Regions from separate parts of the Homo sapiens genome. Here regions 1 and 3 are each linked to region 2. The links are contacts of gene promoters, found by promoter capture Hi-C in blood cells and fetal thymus (Javierre and others, 2016). All regions are on one chromosome and are shown on one strand. The core of a region is centred on a gene start or on the middle of the fragment in contact, and the rest is flanking DNA. Distances in the headings are between cores, read along the strand shown. Region 1 has its middle 48 kb from the start of LINC00525. Region 2 holds the start of TNS3 (tensin 3). Region 3 has its middle 24 kb from the start of LINC00525.

What was found. The method cuts DNA at HindIII sites, captures the fragments that hold promoters and counts their contacts. A CHiCAGO score of 5 or more calls a contact.
Region 1: a contact is called between a fragment that was not itself captured here and the fragment with the promoter of TNS3 in region 2, in 7 of 17 cell types (total B cells, naive B cells, M1 macrophages and 4 more). The highest score is 34.4, in total B cells.
Region 3: a fragment that was not itself captured here is called in contact with the fragment with the promoter of TNS3 in region 2 in 6 of 17 cell types (total B cells, naive B cells, M0 macrophages and 3 more); the score reaches 32.9 in total B cells.

What each region holds. Positions count from the first base shown.
Region 1 is chr7:47,711,518-47,716,388 of GRCh38, forward strand. No RefSeq gene overlaps it. Among named protein-coding and RNA genes, the nearest start is that of LINC00525, 48 kb to the right of the region's middle. RefSeq lists enhancers at 3,682-3,761, 4,314-4,608 and a silencer at 4,314-4,608. The HindIII fragment of the contact is 1,365 bases long and covers 2,647-4,011 here.
Region 2 is chr7:47,580,103-47,584,636 of GRCh38, forward strand. It overlaps TNS3 (tensin 3), which reads right to left and starts at 2,009. Exons shown (of 31, transcript NM_022748.12): 1 at 1,949-2,009. RefSeq lists enhancers at 1,345-1,882, 1,883-2,420. The HindIII fragment of the contact is 9,706 bases long and covers 1-4,534 here.
Region 3 is chr7:47,735,637-47,740,284 of GRCh38, forward strand. No RefSeq gene overlaps it. Among named protein-coding and RNA genes, the nearest start is that of LINC00525, 24 kb to the right of the region's middle. RefSeq lists an enhancer at 3,753-4,407. The HindIII fragment of the contact is 4,204 bases long and covers 1-3,975 here.

The DNA.
Region 1 (4,871 bases), core at 2,079-4,578, 130 kb after region 2:
CAAGCCTGACCAACATGGAGAAACCCTGTCTCTAATAAAAATACAAAATTAACTGGGCATGGTGGCGCATGCCTGTAATCCCAGCTACTCGGGAGGCTGAGGCAGGATAATTGCTTGAATCTGAGAGGGGGAGGTTGTGGTGAGCCGAGATTGCGCCATTGCACTCCAGTCTGGGCAACAAGAGTGAAACTCTGTCTCAAAAAAAAAAGAAAGAAAGGGTGAAAGTCTGTTACAAAAAAAAAAAATCTTAAAAATCTGGATGGCGTGAATTTCCAGCTGAAAGAAGGCCAGGAGCAACAGGTGTAGAAGTGAGGAGAAGGAGGATGAAGAAAATCACACTGAGTGTGGAGTCAGGGTTGGGCCCTGCAGGTGAGAGCCTGTCGCATCCTCACAGCCCCTTCCGTGATCCTAGCCCACAGGCTGACGGCGGGGTGCTGCACGGCATGGTGGGTGTGAATGAGGCTCTTCGCAAGGTCTATTGCCCAAGCAGTCCTCTTACGAAAGTAACTGGTACTATCTTCCGTGCCTCGGTTTCCCCCACTGTAAAAAGGGCATGCTAATAGCAATCTCCCTCAGAGGTTTCTGTGAGGATTCCACATGCAGCAGAAGCTGTGCTCTTGTTAGATTTCAGCAATGATCATGACTGGCGCAGAGTCGTTGAGGAAGGAGCCTTTGACTTGGTGTACTTGTGTGGGCTTCCATCTAAATGGGTTAAAAAACCCAACCCCCACCCCCACCCCGACCTGACATTTACAACAGCAGTCCATCAGCTCTTCAGGAAGGTGATCTTTCCATGGGCTCTTAACAGGTAAGATTTCACTGCAATAGTCCTAAAATTTTAAAATCTGCTTGCGTTTTTTTTTTTTTAAGTGAGCTATTTGGGGCAGCTAAATACTATCTTTGAGTCACTTTTTCCCATGACAGTCCCGTTCACGGGTCCATTCATTTGACACCAACAAGTCAGAAATGAAATAGGAATATCTGTAACCTATCACCTAGGGATTCACGTCAATATCACATGCAGGTAATTACATTGAAAATTGAGCTTGAGGCATCACAGTTGTCTTCATAAGCATAAAAGCCATAAACGCATTAGGCGACAAGCACTGCGCGCATACTCAGCCCCCCGCGCTCTCTGCTGCTTCTCGGCGCTTCAAGTTGACCTCTCCTGGGAGCAGGACCTTCCAAATGGAGGACTAAGGAAAGAATGTGAGAAGGGCTGGAAAGAGCTGTATTCTAAAATATCTATAAAGTGCCTTGAAAATTGCCAGGAGACATTGCTTGGGAAACCCTGACTTCAATTATGTCCCTACACTTCATAGCAGCTTGACTGCAAACTATCTTGGCTAAATTAAAACCTTCAAAGGAAATTCCTTAAAGTAAACATAAAAAGGTCATCTTTAAATGCACAAGAACTAAAATATTTGAGGTTTAGGAGCCCCAAAGTAGATGATACATCGTATATTGTCAATAGCCCATGGGACGTTTTATTTTAAAAACGCTTCCACTTCAACTTCAAGGGGTACGGGTACAAAGTAGGTAACCTGATAATTCCAAAAAATCCAAAAAGAAAGAAAAAATTTCCCCGTCAACAGCGATCACAGAAGTTCTATTTGAAACACTTAAAAAGATTAATTTAACAATCTTAAAATAACTCATCTAATACTGGTGGTAGTGTGAAGTAGTTATCCTCATGAGTTGCTCACACTGCAATTTGTAGGAGGCATTTTAGAATGCATGTGGCAATATCTGTCCCAAACTATATTTTATTTTCCCTGGCCCAGGAATCAAAATTCTTTTTTTTTTTTTTGAGACGGAGTCTCGCTCTGTCACCCAAGCTGGAGTGCAGTGGCGGGATCTCAGCTCACTGCAAGCTCCGCCTCCTGGGTTCATGTCATTCTCCTGCCTCAGCCTCCTGAGTAGCTGGGACTACAGGCACCCGCTACCACGCTTGGCTAATTTTTTTTTTTTGTATTTTTAGTAGAGACAGAGTTTCACCGTGTTAGCCAGGATGATCTCGATCTCCTGACCTTGTGATCCGCCCTCCTCGGCCTCCCAAAGTGCTGAGATTACAGGCGTGAGGCACCGCGCCTGGCCAGGAATCAAAATTCTAAGAGTCTATCCTAAGGAAATATTTCAAAAGAGGGAACACTTTAGAAGCAGCATAATTCTCCTTGTAGTATTTTATGCTTGAGGAAGAAGACAATCACCTGTAGTAGGGGTTGGCAAACTATGTCCCACAGGCCAAACTGGCCTTCCGGCTGTTTTAGTGAATAAAGTTTTATTAAAACACAGCCACGTTTGGTGGCTCGTTTATGTTTTGTTTTCACACAATCACAGCAGAATCGAGCAGCTGGAACAGAGGCCATGTGGCTCCTAAAGCTGAAAAATATTTACTACCTGGCCTCTTTTGTGGTACTGAGCTTTGAATCCTGAATTATGATATCACTCTATTCATCAAGTTATTCTCTTTATAGCCTTCTGTAAATCTTAAATTTAATCCTAGATATTTCAGATTTTTTTTGCTGTTGTGAGTAGAATACTTATTAAAAATGATATTCTCTTGCTAATATTGAAAAAGCTTTTGATTTCTAAATATTTATATTATAACCGACCACACTCTGAATTCTCTTATTTCATCAATTAAGCTTTACTTGATTCTCTTGATTTTTTTTTTTTTTTTTGAGATGGAGTCTCGCTCTGTTGCCCAGGCTGGAGTGTAGTGACATGATCTCAGGTCATTGCAAGCTCTACCTCCCGGTTTCACGCCGTGCTCCTGCCTCAGCCTCCCGAGTAGCTGAGACTACAAGCGCCCGCCACCACGCTTGGCTAATTTTTTTGTATTTTTAGTAGAGACAGGGTTTTACTGTGTTAGCCAGGATGGTCTCAATCTCCTGACCTCGTGATCCACCTGCCTAGGCCTCCCAAAATGCGGGGATTACAGGCGTGAGCCACTGCGCCCAGCATCTCTTAAGATTTTGTGTAGATATTTTAAATTAGTTTTAAATAATTAGTTTGTAATAATTTTAATTAGTTTATCTGGAAGTAATAAACTAATAGTTTACCCCCTCACTTCCAGTATTTTTCTTTCATCTTCTTATCGTACTGAATCACTTGCTATTTCTAGGTCAGTGTTAGATACCAATAGTGAAGATGAGTACCATTCTGCTAATTTTGAAATAGCCTTGACCTAGTTACTCAGAAGTCAGGAGCCTGAAGCTAGCCCTGAAAATCCTGATTGCAAAGAGTTTTATATTCCCCTGAAGAAATTCCTCCTGATCAGCTCACTCCACACAAGGCAGCTGCACACAGAGCAACTGAGACATCCATGCTCTGAGCAGAGTTCCGGGTCAGCCCTACCTGGGCCACTGGGGAGGAAGCCATGAATTCTTTCTGCTCTCTGATCACTGGGATGTTGGTTCCAATGCTTAAGATTTCCCCCCCAGGCACATAAAGACAGGTGTGAGGAATACAAATTTCAGAAGCTAAATAAACCAAATAAAACATTTTAGTCAAAATATGAGGTAAGCACCCACAGTACGGAGGGTGAAAACATCTGTGCTTTGATAGACAGGTTCTGTTTCTGTCCTATCTCCTAAAATCTCAGTGACACTGGCACGCCTTCTCTGAGTCTCAGTTCTCTCAACTGTAAAATGAGAAATAATACCTAAACTCTAGAGTTCTTGCAAGAATTAGAAATAATTCGTAAGTATGGTTTGTAGGAGATATTGAATATATAATTAGTAAGTATCACATGTAGGAAATATTGAATAAATCCTCATAAAACAGCAGCAATAACCATCAAAACTTTCTCGGCAATTTGAGGAAGTTCCATTGGGTGCTGAAAACACAACTGTCCTTTGAACACAAGGATTGACTGTGGGGGAGATGCTGTGGTCTTGGATGGTTGTCATTTGCATAGTTTCTCTTTCAGGTTTCTTTCCTTCCAGCCATGCAGACCAACATCCAATATGATCACAGCAGATGCAATCTCAGTCTTTACTTAAAGTAAGCTTCCTTTGCTACAGAAAGGCCTAATCTTTTCCATTCATTTTTTGTGGACCACCACAGTGCGACACCCCCACCCCAACCCAAGTAGGCACATGACAATTGTGAAGTAACCAGAGGTCATTGGTTGTGACCCGCGGGTAGCCATTTTGACCCATGAAGGCCCTGCGTGGGGCAGGGCAGGTTACATGTCAACATATACTTCTGGAAAGTGCTTGATCATATGTTCAACTAAGAAACCATTGGCACCTCCTCTCATCCCATGCCTAAGTCCTTTCCTCAGCATGCTCTGTTAGGGAGACCCCACCTATTTTGTCTCTGCCTAACAATCATACATGGGGGCCTAATGTCCCTGGTGTTACAGATTAATGTACAACATTGTCACCCCTGCTAAAGAAGGACTCGCTGGGCTTCCCATCTGTAAACAAGAAGGCAGGGCTTGCATGCATGAAACACAAGGACCCTGGACTTGGTGCAAAGGGCTCTGACTTGGTGCCCGGCTCTCCAGCTGGATCTAGGCCTGTCCTTTAATTTTCATGTCTCAGATGTCTAACCCGAAAAAGGGGAGAGAATTCCAATCATTACTCTGTGTGGAAAAAGTAAAGCGTCTCTTTTTTGATGGGATCTTTATCCATTAATAATTTAGTTGGACTAAATTATTTACATTTAACTTGTTAAAGGTCTATTTATTTATATATTTTTAAATTTTTATTTATTTATTTTTTTGAGATGGAGTTTCTCTCTTGCTGGAGTGCAATGGTGCGATCTGGGCTCACTGCAACCTCTGCCTCCCGAGTTCAAACGATTCTCCTGCCTCAGCCTCATAAGTAACTGGGATTACAGGCACCTGACACGAAGTCCGG
Region 2 (4,534 bases), core at 759-3,258:
GCTGCTGATAGCTATGGCAGCCTCAGCTGAGGAATCGCTGTCTGGACATGCATTAGAATTCAGTCGACAGACGCGCAGCAGCAGCCAGGAACAGGGGTCTGGGACCCTAGAGTCCTGTCCCAGAATCCCAGGCTGCACTACCACCATGTTTCATTTCATCTCGGCCAAGTTACTTAGCCTTCCTTTGCCTCAGTTTACTCGTCTGTAAAATGGGGTAATCATAATCCCAACTCCCTCCAAGGAATGTAATTTGGGTGAAATGAAATGAATGCATGCAAAGCATTTAGCACAGGCAAACACTCAATCGGTATGCCTGTTACTTTGTCTTCGGGGTCACCATTACTATTCCTAAGGTCAGGAGTCGGGCTTGCTGCCAGTTCCTCCTGTCAATTCCCTGTGTACACACCCCCCACCCCCTGTGCTACCACACCCCCACCAGGACCCAGTGCACCTCCATCTCTGTGTAATGGCCTTGCCCCTCCACCCTCCAGCTGCAGCGACTCCCCACCCCCTCCCTGGCCCTCAAGGCCTCAGCACAGAAAAGCCTTTCTTAATACTTGTTGATTGATTTGCAAATATAACCTCACAGGCCCCAAAGAGAGAAGAACCAGAATCACCAGAACAAGTAAACCTCATTCAAAAGGGAAAGCATGAAAGCAATTTAAAAAATTAATATGCACAGACCAAAGCCTCAAGAAAATCTAAAATGTCAAAGGGTTGGTTAGTTCAGAAGGGCCATGCAATATTAATACAATGAGTTCTGCATTCATACTTTTCAGTATATTTTCAGAGTCCTCCATGATCATGCATTCAAATAGTGAAAAAAATGGGGGGAAAGCCAACCCGGAAGATCAAAGTGTGTGAATGCGCCCCAAGGAAGCCTGGGGGCTTCCCAGGGGGTTGTGACCACCCTCAGTAGTGCTCTCTGCTGGCCCCACACCCTGATGGCGCTTTGAGTTTTTCAACCACGCTGGAGTTCGGGTCATCTGCTGACACTGTCTGGAGAATGCCTGAGGAACGCCTGAATCTCTTCCCGCCACAGACACTCAAATCACTCCAAGCAAAGGACCCGGGACTCACATGTCAGGCCGCTGCACAGCACCGACACAGAGACCCCTGGGCCGTCCGGGACCCTCCCTCCTCCTGCTTGTCAGCGACAGCTCCCGCGTGCCAGGAGGCACATGCCACACAGCTGGCCCCCAGCCTGGGACAGCACCCCCCACCCCAGAATATCCCCCCACCCCGAGGTCCCGTCCTTCAGGGAAAAAAAGGAAGCGCGTAAAGACCCCCTGCCTCCCACCCACCAAAGGGAAAGGGAAAGAGACGCACTGGAGAGCTTGCCTAGAAAAAGTAGGAGAAGGGTCTTGAGCCTGCCCATTGAAGCCCCTAGCTGCGCTCTCCACCTGGAGTCTCGAGACGGAGTCCTAGGGAGCAAAGTCCGCTCGGTCCCGACAGCGACTGCGACATAGCTGCTCCGGTCTCTGCCCTCAGTCCAGGGCGCCCGGGCGCCACGGGTCCCACTCGAGTGGTCCTGCGCCCCAGCCAGTCCCCAAACCCAGCCAGTCAGCGCCCCCGTCCCCGGACTCCGGCGAAGCTGGCCCGCGCCCCAGCCCCTGTCCTGGGACTCCTGCCGAGCCCCCGCCCCCCACGCGCCGCAAACCCCGTACCCGCGCGCACCAAACCCCTTGCCCGTGCGCCCCCAACCGGGTCCCCGCGCTCCCTAACCTGGGTTCTCCCGTGACCCCATCCCCGCGCCCTGAGCTCCCGTACCCCGCGCTCCCCGAACTCTGTCTCCGCGCTCCCCGAACTCAGTCCCCGCGCCCCAGCTCCAGATCTCTGTGCTCCCCAAGCCTCGTTCCTGCGCCCGGAGCGCGAAAGCCCGCGCCGGGCCCGAAACAAAGAGGACCGCGGCGCGTGGCCGCGTTTCCTCCTTCCCCGGCCCCAGTACCTGGGGGAGCCTGAGGCGCGGTCCGGCAGGGCGATGGCCGCAACGAGGCTGGGCTCCGAGTAGCGCGCGGGCGGGCCCGTCCTCCTGGCTGGCTGCCGGCGCCCGCGGCAGGGCCCCCTCGAGGCGGCGCGGGCAATCGCCACGGCCGGCCCCCGCGCCCGCGCCCCGAGCCTGGCGGGTCACCTGGCCTCATCACCCTAACAATGCAGCGCGCCTCCAGGCGCCCTTCACCGGGGTCCCCCGCCCTGCCGAGGTGCGCCCTGGGACCTCCCTTCGCTGGCCGCAGAGAGGACCTGGAATTATCAGACCCATTGAGCAGCCCAGGCTCCAAGTGGTCTGGAGGCTTGCAGGTTCCGCCGGGCCGGTGTTAGAGTACCTGGGGAGGCGGGTTCGGATCCTGGTTCCTGCACAACCAGTTCATTCTTTCATTCAGCGCCTGTGATTAAGGTGCTCTCCGGGAGCAAGACCTACCCTCCCTCCTGTAGCTCATAGCCTAGTGGGAGTCGCGCATACATAAAGGAGCACAGCCGCTCCGGAAAGCCTAGGGTGCCGTAGAAGCCCCTGAAATACCCAGCTAATGAAGGGAGGAGGTCAGGGAAGTCTTTAGAAGTCACATGACTTCTTAAAATGCGCCGGGACAAATGAGCAGAATTTAGGCAAGCCAGGGGAAACCAGAAAAACGATCCCGAGCAGAGAGATTCTCAGAGGAGGAAAGGCCTATAGGTTGTCCATCCTGACTGTCCATCCCTGAGATTCAGATGGCCCTGAACTCAGTCGCTTAGCCTCAGTTTCCCCATTTGTGAGATCGGGGGAATGGAAAAAGTTTGCAGAAATCAGAAGTGCTCTTCCTCCAGGGAGGTCACAAGAGAAATTTCATCAGCGGTTTGTCCTGTGGTCCTTTCCAGGAAAACATCCTCCCCGCCAGCCTCTCACAGAAGAGACCTAGATTTCATCTGCCACGTGGAGCAGGCGGTCTCAGAATCCCACCCGGAGCAGGGTCCAGGGCAAGTCTTGGAGGACAGTCACCAAGAACTGCTTTGGATTCGGGAACAGAGCTGCCTAACCCATCCGCAGCCCTGGGGTCCTGCCCTGTTCCTCTGGCCCCTTCAGGGCAGCGGGGGAAGCAGGGAAAACAGCCTGTCAGAGATGGCAGAGAAACCGAGCAAGAATAATTATCCTGGAAAAGACTTTCAGAAGTAACCACCAGAAACTTCGAGTCCCCAGATCCAAACAGCTGAGAATGTGGGGCCTGAGCCACGCTCTGACTCCACTCCCACCACATGAGGAGAAACAAGAGCTGCTTTTCTGGAAGACTTGAACAACCCCTGCTGTGCTCTGGAAGGTAGTGTCATTTCTCATCCCCAGACTGATCTGGGTATTTATTCCCAGGCAAAGGCTTCATGAGCACCATGCCCCAGCCCCTAGAGATGAGGCAGGCATTTTTCCTACACTCTAGGAGACACCAGGTCAAGAGTCAATGAGATGAGTCAAGGGGTGCCAGGGAAGATGCCATAGGGGAAGGTGGGGAGGAGGTCACAGCCAGCTGGGTTAGGAATGGGGGTGAGGCTGGTACTGTTACGATCTCCTTTGTCCTGATAAGGAAACAGGATCTGACATTCTAGGCAACTTGTTCAAGGTCACCCACCTGGTCAGGCGAAGAAAGTGGGAGGGATCAGGACTATCTGGCCTTGAGGCTACTCTTAACTTCTTCCCAGCTGCCTGCCCACACCATCCACTCTGTGCAATTGGACTAAATCATCACTTTGCTCAACCCTCTCTTCCATTAAGACCGTGGTGATCTTCACACCCAGAGCCAATTACGTGCTATTCTGTGCATCACAGAAACCATCATAATGCCAAAAACCATGTTGGCTGAATGACAACATGAATTTGAGCTTCTTGCAGTGTTAGGGCACCCATTTACAGGAGGTGACACTGTTGTTTGTCTGAGAGCTCACAGTCAGGAAAACTCAGTGCAGTGCTGGGGTTCTCTGACCCTTTGTCAGGGAGCCTCTTCTAAAATCTCTCCAAACTGCTACCCACACCCAAGCCAGATGGCCCCACCGGCCACACTGCCCTTGTTGGGGTAGCAATGGAATGGGATGCCCCAACCACACCTTTGTTTCTAGAAAAACTGTGACTTGGGTGCTCATTCGTGCAGTGTCTGTGGTTATATTCCCTGGCAGTGTCCCAAGAAAGGAGAAGAAAAACCGGGCTCCAGTATCCCCACGCACTCTGTGTTGGCTGGGATGGCTGTTCCCCGGGTTCCCCACACCTCGTCTAGAGGCACATGAAGGGAAGCCTCTCTGGATCCCCAATCGGGACCTGGGCCCCTTCCAGAGCTTCGCTTCCCCAGCCCAGGGCCTCCCCACTTCGCAGGCTGCAACTTCAAGTTTCCAAGAAATTAAACAAAAACAGGGCATGAACCAGTATCTGAAAAAGGGAATGTGCATTTTTTCCATCCTTAGCCATCCAAAAAAAACTCAACTTTGAAAACAAAAGTCTCCAACATTTAGCTGAAAAAAAAAAAAAGCAGCAATATGCCAAGAGTGGCCTCTCCCTCCTAGTATGCCAAGCAGAGGGCAG
Region 3 (4,648 bases), core at 624-3,123, 160 kb after region 2:
AATTCTGTTCCCAAGGGAAAAGGGAGAGTAGACAGGAAGGGCAGCCAGCAGTCTTGGTTACTTGTGTCACTTATATTTAGTGGCTTCCACAATGTGTACTCCTCTGTGCTTAATTCCAACAGAGCACTTTCATCCTTACGCTGTGGGATCCCATGCTTGCCCGCTCTAACCTACAGAGCGTGTCTTCTCTGGATGGGAGAGTGAAGAGTGGAGGGGAAACAAAGGCGTGAGCTTCTTTTTCCTGAATATCTTCTCACCATGAGCAGGCAACACATTAAGAATATGCTGGTCTCAAGGGCTCCTTTCTCCAGGATGGACACAGAGGGTTGCCCAGACTTCAAGCAGGAAGGCGTGGCCACTGCCTTCCACTGCCAAGATGTCTCTTTCTTTCTTTCTCTTTCTTTCTTCCTTTCTTTCTCTCTTTCTTTTTCTTTCTTTCTCTTTCTTTCTTCTTTCTTTTCTTTCTTTTCCTTCCTCCCTCCCTCCCTTCTTTCTTTCTTTCTTTTTCTCTCTCTTTCCTCCCTCCCTCCCTCTCTCTCTCCCCTCCCTCCCTCTCTCTCTTTCTTTCCACCCTCCCTCCCTCCCTCTCTTCCCTCCCTCCCTCCTTCTTTCTTTCTTTCCTTCCTTCCTCCCTCCCTCCCTCCCTTCCTTCCTTCTTTCCTTCTTTCTTTCTTTCCCTCCCTCCCTCCCTCCCTTTCCCTCCCTCCTTCCCTCCCTCCCTGCTTTCTTTCTTTCTTTTCCTTCCTTCCTTCCTTCCTTTCTTTCACGGAGTCTCACTCTGTCGCCCAGGCTGGAGTGCACTGGTGTGATCTCAGCTGGCTCACTGCAACCTCCACATCCTGGGTTCTCTGCCTCAGCCTCCAGAGTAGCTGGGATTACAGGTGCCCGCCACCATGCCTGGCTAATTTTTGTATTTTTAGTACAGATGGGGTTTCACCATCTCGGCCAGGCTGTTCTTGAACCCCTAACCTTGTGATCCACCCGCTTTGGCCTCCCAGAGTGCTGGGATTACAGGAATGAGCTACCGCGCCCGGCTGATGTCTCATATTTCTAATAGACTGTTTTCTGAGGGTTGATAGGGTTCAGGAGAGAGAGATGCGTTTCTCTTAAACGAGACAAATGAATGCCTGCAGGAATTAGGGCTCTCTACGAATCAGCGAGTTGGCTGCTGGGCTGCTGAGAACATGCCCTGGACTGGGGAAGCATCAAGTTTCAAAGCCCCCTACCCGCCATAGCTGAGTCCTCATGATCTTGGCCTCATCCTAGAAAATCATGACATTCTATTTGTTTCCTATTGTTGCTATAACAAAGGAACACAAATTTAGTAGCTTAAGACGGCTCAACTGCATTGTCTTAGGGTTCTGGAGATGAGAAAGGCCCCCAGGGCTGTGCTCCTTCTGAGGCTCTAAAAAAGAATCCATTGCCCAGCATTGTCCGGCTTCTAGAGGCCATCCACATTCTTTGGGTTGTGTCTCCTTCGCGCATCCTCAAAGCAAGCTGCACGGCATCTTCACATCCCTCTCCCTCTGTTCTCTGACCTCCGCTTCCATTGTGACATCTCCCACTCTGACTCTGAGCCTCCCTCTTATAAGGATCCTGTGATGACATTGGGCCCAGCCCCACAATCCAGGACAATCTACTTCAAGACCCTTAATTTAATCCCATCTACAATGTCCCCTTTGCCATGTAAGGTGCCGTACCCACATGTTCTAGGGCCCAGGACATGGACATCTTTGGGGGTCATTATTCTGCAGATTGCAGAGATGTTGTGGGGATTCCCCTCAATTTCTCCTTACTCCTCATTCACTCCTTCACTTTAGCCATTTAAAATAATTAGTCCCCAACAAGGCCCATCTGACCAAGGGCTGTCCGCCTGGGGTGCCAACTGTGAGAAGGGATGTGGGGAGCAAGTGAGGGGAGCAAACTGGGACCCACAGAGGGGCCTCCATGTCTGAACAGCTGGCAGCAGGACAGACTTCCCTGCAGCCAGTGCTCAGGTCCTGACCTGGAGGGAGGCTTCAGCTCCCACCTCCATCCTTTCCCTCTTTGTACAAGCCCAGAGGGAGGGAACCATTCCTCTGCCTCAGTCACAATCTGACAAAGCAGGACCGTTGTGCAACTTAAATGCTCCAGGCTGGGCTTTGGGGTCTGCCAAAAGCACAGCTGACATTCTTTCATTGTTGCAGGGCAGACAGTGGCAACAGGGACACAAGGGCATCTGCCTTCAGCTCATGTTGCCCTTCTCTCGTGGGAAACACAGAACCAGCGGAGCCTTTTTAATGTTCAGTCTTGAGCTGTTCACAGTGGCCCAGCTTGTTCCAATTTCCGGGTCCTGAGCCACAGGCTAAGGGTATGGATGTTGAGTATCTCCCATCCCCTGCCCTGTCTGAGACCATGTGAGGAACCTTTTAGGCCACACCTGTCCTCCGGTCCCATGATGATGTTCCTAGCGTTTCACATATGCTGCAAGTTGCCTCAATTATGTGGGGGCTGGTCCATCTTTCACTTGGGCTTCACAGCCTTCGCCCTCCCTGGTTTCAGACCCTCATCTTCAGGTGTGTAGCAAGACTGGTGTCTGCATCCTACAGCCCATAGCTTTCCTGATTCAAAATGTTAAACCACACTTCCCCAGGCTCTCACTGCAGCCTCCCATCCAGTCCAGACTGTGGCTGCTCAAAGTGTGGTCCCCGGACCAGCAGCCTTAGCATCTCTGGAGAGCTGGTTAGAAAGTCCACAACTTTAGGTCCATGCCAGACTTGCTGAATTCTAATCTTCATTTTACCAAAAGCCCCAGGTGGCATTTGTGCAAATTCAAGCACGAGAATCACGGCCTGGCTTTAGGAAACCATGCCATCTCCCAGAGTCGTACTTTCCTTGTCTGTAAAATGAGCAGTTGGATCAAAGGTGCCCTGAGTTTCCCCCTCTGTGGTGTCTTATGGCTCCTGTATGTGGCTCCACCTTTTGTAAAGTGTTTAACAAGAAACCGGCTCCATGAGCCTCACAAACCAAAGACTGAACAATAATCACATCAGTGGCTGAGTTGTTAAACTTCTAAATAGAATCTGACTTGTATGCTATACGATGTGTGACCGTAGTGAGTGACTTGGACATTTCTGGGGACTGCCCCACCCTTCTTGTGGGCCTAAGCCACAAGCCACATTCACACCTGAGTGTGAGGAGGCAACAGCCTCCTCAGGGTCTCTGCCTCTGCCTTCAACAAGCAGCGGAGAGCTCTTTGCAGAGCCCACACGGACAGAGCCTGAGTCCCTCCACCAGACCCTCCCCCACCTGCTGCCCCTTCTCACTTGCCCTTGCCTCCAGCAGCCTGGCCTTGGCTGGCCTTTGACCTCAGGTCCTCGGGCCTTTGCAGGTCATCCTGTGGGCCTGAGACATTGCCCCATAGCCCCAGCCTAGTCTGCTCTCCCAGCCCCCTCAGGTCTCTGCTCAAATGACACCATCTGCAGAGGCCTCTCTGGAGCAACTTATTTGATGCTGACACTTGCTTTCCACTAGCCCACACCACACTCCTGGTCCCTTTTGCCTTCCTCTAATTTTTCATTTTTCCATAGCAATTCCCACCTCCTAAGATGATGCAGCATTTACCTCCTGTGATGATGGCTGTTGCCCCACAAGGACAGGGATTCTCGTCAGTTTCAGTTCCCAGATGTTCCCCAGCATGGTAAATGTCTGGCACAGAGCATACACAGTATTTTTGGGAGGAACACACTTCTTATTCCTCAAAGTTTCAGGGAACAGGCCCCATCAGGTGCCTCTGTATCCCCAGGTGATGCCCAAGGGAGGCTGAGGGCTGAAGAGTGGCATTCTCCCGATGTCCTGACCTGGGCCACAGTGGGGACGGGAAGCCCTCTGGTATGGAGACTTTCACTGAACTAAACACAGCCTGGGTGGACTGGCCCAGGCCTGATGTGGTGTCCTCCTTGCCTCTCGCTCTGACCCACGCTGGCCTCCCCTTGAAGCTTGCCTGCCCTGAGCCTTGAGGATCTTTTCCTTGTTGCTGGGGCTTCTCTGCCTCCAGTTCTTTCTCTGCAGTGTTCCCTCAGCAGGAGGGCTCCTTATTTTCTCTATGGCTTTCTTATGCAACACAAAAGAACCGGCTCCTTAGCGCAATGAGAGGACGAGAGGATGGTCACTTTGGGAGACTGGCTGTGCGGCTTTGATACATGGTGGCTCCTGGGAACATCAACCAGGAGGGCTGCGTTTTTATGTTTATTAATTTTATTTACTTATTTTACTTCTAAATCTCATCTGTGGCTTGACAGGGAACTAAACAGCTGGACTCAAAAGTCCAGCCCCTGCCCCCCGCCCCCAGTTAATCATCCGCAGCTGTGGGTACAGGGTCCCTGTGCCTCTGGGACTTAATGCAGGTGGCCCAAGTCCCGGGCACACGATCATAAGAACGGAAGCCTTACTATGTGGAAGCGGCATAAGCGTTACTCAGCAGACAGTTTATTTATTTTCTACTTGTGTTTATAAGCCCCTCCTCTGCAGAGGGGGCCTGGAGGCTGCTCAGAGGCCGTTGTACAGAAATGAAAATGTACTAATGTGTACACACACACACAATGGAATATCATTCAGCTTTCAAAAGGAGATCTTGTCATTTGCAACAACATGGATGAACCTGGAAGAC